2 separate regions of the Homo sapiens genome follow, and region 1 is linked to region 2. The links are contacts of gene promoters, found by promoter capture Hi-C in blood cells and fetal thymus (Javierre and others, 2016). All regions are on one chromosome and are shown on one strand. Each heading gives the region's core, a stretch centred on a gene start or on the middle of the fragment in contact. The rest is flanking DNA. Distances are from core to core; before and after follow the strand shown.

Region 1 (3,252 bases), core at 313-2,812, 590 kb before region 2:
AAAAGAGTACCTTCTTCAGGATCACAAAATGATTTCATAGTAAAGAAGGGATTTCAATTTAGCTATTTTGTTTTGTTCCCCTATGCAAAAATATTCTTGGTAGGTAAACATCACTTTGCCAATTGAATGTTAAACATTTTTTTTTACCTCAGTGGAAAAATCATAAAATATGTGCTAGGGTTTTATGATACAATGAAACATTATGGAATGCAGGACAGTCAGAGGAAAAGAGTTGGGAGATGAAAGTGTTTGGGACAACATTTCTACTCTTTTCACATAATTATTCATATAAATAATTTGGGCCACAAATAATTCACTGGCGACTTAAACTTTTGGTTCAAGGAGTGACCTTTAATTAAAGAAAACACCTTTGCTAAAGCAAACAACTAAAACCTTTCTAAAATTAACAAATTTTTACAATGGAAAGAAACACACACAAAAAACAAACACAATAATTTTTAAATTTCTTCTATCCTGTGAAGGAATTGACATTTTAATGGAAAAGATAGGATTTTTCTAAGTCCCAGGGAGTTGGCCCTATGAAAATAGCCTGAGGCAATATGAGGATGTTTGGATGTTTATCTAAAAGTGCATGGAGCCTGAAGGAGAGCAATGGTTTCACCATTTTGCCTGCATGTGCCTCCAACCATAAAGCACAGACTTAGCTTTCGTTAGGATTACTTAAGGTATTTCCCTTCCCCCAGGCCATCTTAAGCTTCCTGAGAGTTGAATTAGTTACACTTGTTTTAAGGAAGTATTAAAGTAACCTTTTAAATGATCAACTTTGCAACATCAAGTGACTCTGAAAGCCCATCTCCTGGATTGGTCATCCACTCCTAAAGGTTAAGTTTTCAAGCAGAACATGAAAACCCTCAATGATTTCAACAAACATATCTGGAGCAAGTTTCCTTCAAATAACCCATTTTCTAAAATCACACATGTGCCTCTTTATACTCTTGGATGGTATGCATAACATTTCCAAATTTAGCTGATTCAGCCAAATGTTATGAAGAAACCATCTGATTAAAGTAATTGGTAATAAAATATGAATAATTAAGTGACACCCTCCTTAGAGGTATTTGCTTTCAAGAGAGTTGGCTAAGTGCTCACTAATTGGGAGATCAGGAGAGGGCAACAGCAATTTAGCACACTGCTTCTGCTTTACATTTTCCTTTCTGGGTAATGTATTTTTTGCTAAAACCCCTCAGTTGTGTGTGCAATATTCTAAGACATGCACTACTTACATAGTAATAATCATTAATTATTTTCTATCCATGATTTCTGAGACTTCTTTTCAAATACTTCTTTTTCTCTCCACTCCCATACCACGTTCCTTTTCATTTCCAATTTGTACCTTTTCCTAAATGGAGTATCCACAAAGAAAGGCACATTTGGTGTTATTTTTCCAGACACTGACAAAATACAGTGCTTCTTGAACTTTTTAATAAACTAGTTACTCTTTATTATTATGATTGCTGTTTTATTGAATGTTCATAACTTAACACACTCCTATAACCCGGTTCAAGAAACTGAACATGACAAGCACAATATTCTTCTTCTTAAAAAATGTTTCTAGCTGGGCGTGGTGGCTCACACCTGTGATCCCAGCACTTTGGGAGGCCAAGGTGGGTGGATCAGGAGGTCAGGAGTTCAAGACCAGCCTGACCAACATGGTGAAACCCCCATCTCTACTAAAAATACAAAAATTAGCTGGGATTGGTGGTGCACGCCTGTAATCCCAGCTACTGAGGAGGCTGAGGCAGGAGAATCGCTTGAACCAGGGAGGCAGAAGTTGCAGGGAGCCGAGATCGTGCCACTGCACTCCAGCCTGGGCAACAGAGCAAGACTGTCTCAAAAAAAAACAGCAAAAACTGTTTCTAACCAAAAATAATGTCTATCCTTCCATTATTTTTGGTGAAATCACTTTGTGTTGTATCAGCTCTTTGAGTGACAAGGTTATAACACTGAATGTGCACAATATGTTTCAAGGACTGAAATATATAGAGAAAAAGATTGCTACTAAACTCTGGGAAAAAAATGTATGCCTAAAAAAAGATATAAAATTTTGATATAAAGCCCGTTGTTTCAAAAAGCAAGGATGCAATAACATTTGTGTATGTGGAGGAAAATAACTTTTATTCAATCAAATATTTATTAAAATAGTGTCTTTTCAGGCAGATAATTTAATTTAGAATGATCTCATTTGTTAAGCATTGAAAACTTTTTTTTCCCCAAAGGAAAATTCATTATCTTATTGAAATGTAATAGTAAAATAGCCAAAGGTAATAATAAAATAACTGACTTACAGCTCCTTTTGGTATGTGTTCCCTTGAAATATTAAGAAGTAACAAAAATTCTCTTCAATTAAAATTGTATGCCTGGTATCTGTTTTCTATGAAAGAAGCTTTTTATGTTTCACATCAAATTGATCAAAGCATATTACTTGCCTTTTGCAATGCAAACACATCTTTTTGAGAAGGCTGATTTTCTCATCCCTTAGAAAGTTTATAAATTATTTTACACAATGTACAGTAATTTATATTAGACATGTTAAAGTAGAAGCCTATAGTGAAATATTTATGATTAAAATAATGATATGTTTCAACTCAGTGATACTAGTCCAGGAAACTAAAGCAATGTGACAGAATTTGTCCGTAATTTAATTTAGCACTTATCAGAGCCCTTTTTTTTTTTTAATAAATTTTGACTTTCGTAAAGGTTACGGTCGTCAGGGTCACATAATATGTTTTGTTTCCCCCAAGCTAGCATGAGGTTCATATTAGGCCCTCAATACAACTTTATGATGGCGATAGTAGCACTCAAATTTGTGGAAGATAATTTACGTTTGATAGTTATCTGAGAACAACTAAACCCAGCTACATAAACACCAGTAATGGAGTTTTTGGTAAAGAATAAAGAGATTCTTGCAGAGCCGATCACAATTTACTTACAACAAAAAATTGAGATATTTCTTCCCATTTTAAACTTTCTACCTCTTAGCTCATCCTTACTTTCTATTAATTTAAAAAATATTATTATAAATCATTTTGTATTATTTGGGGTCCTCTGCATTAGTCATAGTTTTACTAAAAACAGTGTATTTTGGGTTGTTTTATTTTGTTTTTACATCATTATATGTGGAGAAATTAATGAATATATCTCCTTTTTGTTCCTGAACTTTTACTTTCTATTCTTCCTAACACTGCTAAGCTTTAAAGTCTTTTCATAAATCTTATTCTCTGAGTAAATGCC
Region 2 (3,303 bases), core at 503-3,002:
TTAAGTTCCTTAAAATGTTCCATATTTCTGCCTGCTTCAGGCCTTTTATACATCAGACCCCATGTGCCATGGTCACTACATGAAATTTCTTTTCTGATAAAGATTTTCCTGTCTATTCCTCAGTCTGGATCAAGGTCTCATCCCCAGCCTCATCCCACAGTCTCAGGGCTTACTTTGCTTTTCCTTTTTGGCACATTTTACACTTGGTAATATGATGATATATGAGAAGTATCTATATCCTCTCCTAGGCTTGTAAGCTTGGTGAGAGCAACATGGTATTAGCTACTTTATCTCAATATGTTAAACAGGAACTAGTTGAGAAAAAGGGGAAAGAAGAAATGAAGGAAGAAAAGGGAAGTGAGAAAGCTTTCTTAAAGGTCAGAAAGTTTTCTACATTGGGAGATTTAATTGTTTTATCTTTAGTATTTTGTAAAAATCCACTCACTTTAAGGGCAGGAGTTATTTTTCTCCCTTAAAACAAAGAGTATTGACAGAATATATTCACATTGGGGGGATTTTGTTCCATGATGTAATGGATTTGTGAAACAACATTAAAACAAAAAAGAAAACTAGAAAAATGCAAGTAGGGTTTGTAAACTATTAATTTCTTTTCCTCTCTCTTCTTCCTCCTTTCCTACACTCTGATCCCTGTCATAATATTTTTACAAACTCTGAGAAGAAAAAAAGTTTAAATTTATTCTCAGGGGCAAAAGATTACTAAAACACAAACTGTTACTCTTTTATATAGTTTCAGCAGCTTTAACATTTGAAAATGCAAATAGCCTTAAGTTAAAAAAAATCTAGTTGGTGTTTCAATTTTGTATATATCATTTTGATAATAAAATCATTTCTTTAGGCCAAATAAAGAAAAAACAAAGTTTCATGTTTATAAAACAATTGCCAAGCTACAGATACAACAGATATCTTCTCTTTATCCCTCTCTCTTCTCTTCCTCTCATCTCTTCCTGAGTCTCATCAAAGCACTCATGCCAAGAAACCACTTTATCCAGGGAAGGTGGCCACATAACCCAAGAAACAGCAATTGATCTACAAATGCTGACAGTGAGATACAAGCTCTGGAAAATGAACTGACCAAACTGGAAACAGCATGTTGAATAACTGGAAGGATTTTTCCTCTCAAATTCTAGGATTTCTTTTTTTCTTTTTCTTTAGACAGGGTCTCCCTCTGTCACTCAAGCTGGAGTGCAGTGGTGCTATCTCAGCTCACTGCAGTTTCTGCCTGCAGGGCCCAGGCGATCCTCCCACCTCAGCCTCCTGAGTAGCTGGGACTACAAGCATGTGCCACCATGCCCAGCTATTTGATATATATATATTTTTTTTTTTGTAGAGACAGCATTTCACTATATTGCCCAGGCTGGCCTCGAACTCCTGAGCTCAAGAGATTCTCCTGCCTGGAAATAACCTCTTTTATACTTAAAGCAAAGCTGAAAGCAAGAGTTCCTAGCCCAAGATGGCTAGCAGAAAGGAAGCAGCAGCTGTGCAGTTGGGGCGGGGCCCAATTCCTTCCCTGGCCGCCAGGGGGAGTCTACCCACAGCTGACTCTGCTCACCTTAAGCGCGCCACTTGGCGCAGGCGCTGAGGCGCCAGACGTCCCTGCGTCTCTGGTTGGGACGTCCTGAAAGAGAGTCGTCACATCCTCCTCAGGACTCTATGGTTCCGGCCTCAGGACTCTATGGTTCCCGCGAGGGACGAGGGGCAACGTATATAAATGCGCGCAGGCGTAGTTAAGAGAGCGCATTTTGACTTCGAGGCACCGCCGACGTTACTGTGTCGCCATGGGGCGCCGTCCAGCTCGCTGTTACCGGTATTGTAAGAACAAGCCGTACCCAAAATCTCGTTTCTGCCGAGGGGTTCCTGATGCCAAGATCCGCATCTTTGACCTGGGTAGAAAGAAGGCAAAAGTGGATGAGTTCCCACTCGGTGGCCACATGGTGTCTGATGAATATGAGCAGCTGTCTTCTGAAGCCCTGGAGGCCGCCCGTATTTGTGCCAACAAATACATGGTGAAAAGTTGTGGCAGAGATGGCTTTCACATGCGAGTGCGGCTCCATCCCTTCCATGTCATCCGCATCAACAAGATGTTGTCCTGTGCTGGGGCTGACAGGCTCCAGACAGGTATGCGAGGTGCCTTTGGAAAACCCCAGGGTACTGTAGCCCGGGTCCACATTGGTCAAGTCATCATGTCCATCCGCACCAAGCTTCAGAACGAGGAGCATGTGATTGAAGCCTTGCGCAGGGCCAAGTTCAAGTTCCCTGGACGCCAGAAGATTCATATCTCCAAGAAGTGGGGCTTCACGAAGTTTAATGCTGACGAATTTGAAGACATGGTGGCCAAGAAGTGCCTCATCCCTGATGGTTGTGGAGTCAAGTACGTTCCCAGTCATGGCCCCTTGGACAAGTGGCGGGTTCTGCACTCATGAAGGTTTTGGCAGTACTGTCTCCTTGGGCCATGCTGGTCTGACTTATGCTTACTAATAAATTCTGTTTACTGGCAAAAAATAACTCCTTATTAAGTTTTAATATTTTTTAAATATCCAATGTTTTAGAATATAGACTACTAGAGAATTTTTTTCTATTTATTCAGTTTTAATGGCAAATGTTACCTTCCTTGCTTCAGTAAAACTATACAATTTATAGAGAAAGCTGTTTTAAGCAAACACTTTAAATTTAGGAGAGTATAGAGCAATATGTTGAAAGTTTTGTTTGTAGTAAAGTCATAAGTTATGCAGCTATCATTCCTTGAATAAAAAATAGATTTGAGTGAAAAAATTTGTTTATAGAATATAAACTAAACAGTAGCGATGAAAATAATAGTAGGCATTAGTGATATTTCACCCACAGCCTCTTTGGAAGTAATTTATTTCTAAACTTGGTTGCCTTATGTTTTTCTATAAATTTCTGTACATTGTTTTTAGAATTACCTTACACGTCTGATTATCAGCCTTAGGACAATTGAGTATCACTCTGAAAGGCTTTTCCAGACGAACTTTACATTGTCTCACAGTCAAGAGATAACAGTCTAATCTTTTTTTCATCATAGAAAGGTCATAGGTGACAACAGAGTTCATATTACTTGTATCTGGGCTCCAGTAGAACCAAAAGAAGAGAGAAAATGACACTAAATCGGTTATCTGTGCTATAAAAGGACCCTAAAGAGAGTTTGCAATTGTAGGTGCTTGCCCTGAATTAGAGTTACGTTGATGACACAGGTGCTTTTTGTTTTATTTTTGAAACTACATAAGCTAAAATTCCTGAGTTTGTACTGCATTAAAAAAAATTCTT

What was found. The method cuts DNA at HindIII sites, captures the fragments that hold promoters and counts their contacts. A CHiCAGO score of 5 or more calls a contact.
Region 1: a contact is called between a fragment that was not itself captured here and the fragment with the promoter of RPL10L in region 2, in 1 of 17 cell types (M1 macrophages). The highest score is 5.3, in M1 macrophages.

The regions. Positions count from the first base shown.
Region 1 is chr14:47,238,666-47,241,917 of GRCh38, reverse strand. All of the region lies in intron 2 of MDGA2 (MAM domain containing glycosylphosphatidylinositol anchor 2), which reads left to right. Among named protein-coding and RNA genes, the nearest start is that of MDGA2, 440 kb to the left of the region's middle. The HindIII fragment of the contact is 1,689 bases long and covers 718-2,406 here.
Region 2 is chr14:46,650,230-46,653,532 of GRCh38, reverse strand. It overlaps RPL10L (ribosomal protein L10 like), which reads left to right and starts at 1,752. Exons shown (of 1, transcript NM_080746.3): 1 at 1,752-2,523. The coding sequence starts at 1,797. The coding sequence ends at 2,441. All of the region lies in intron 3 of LOC105370481 (a long non-coding RNA gene), which reads left to right. The HindIII fragment of the contact is 1,853 bases long and covers 369-2,221 here.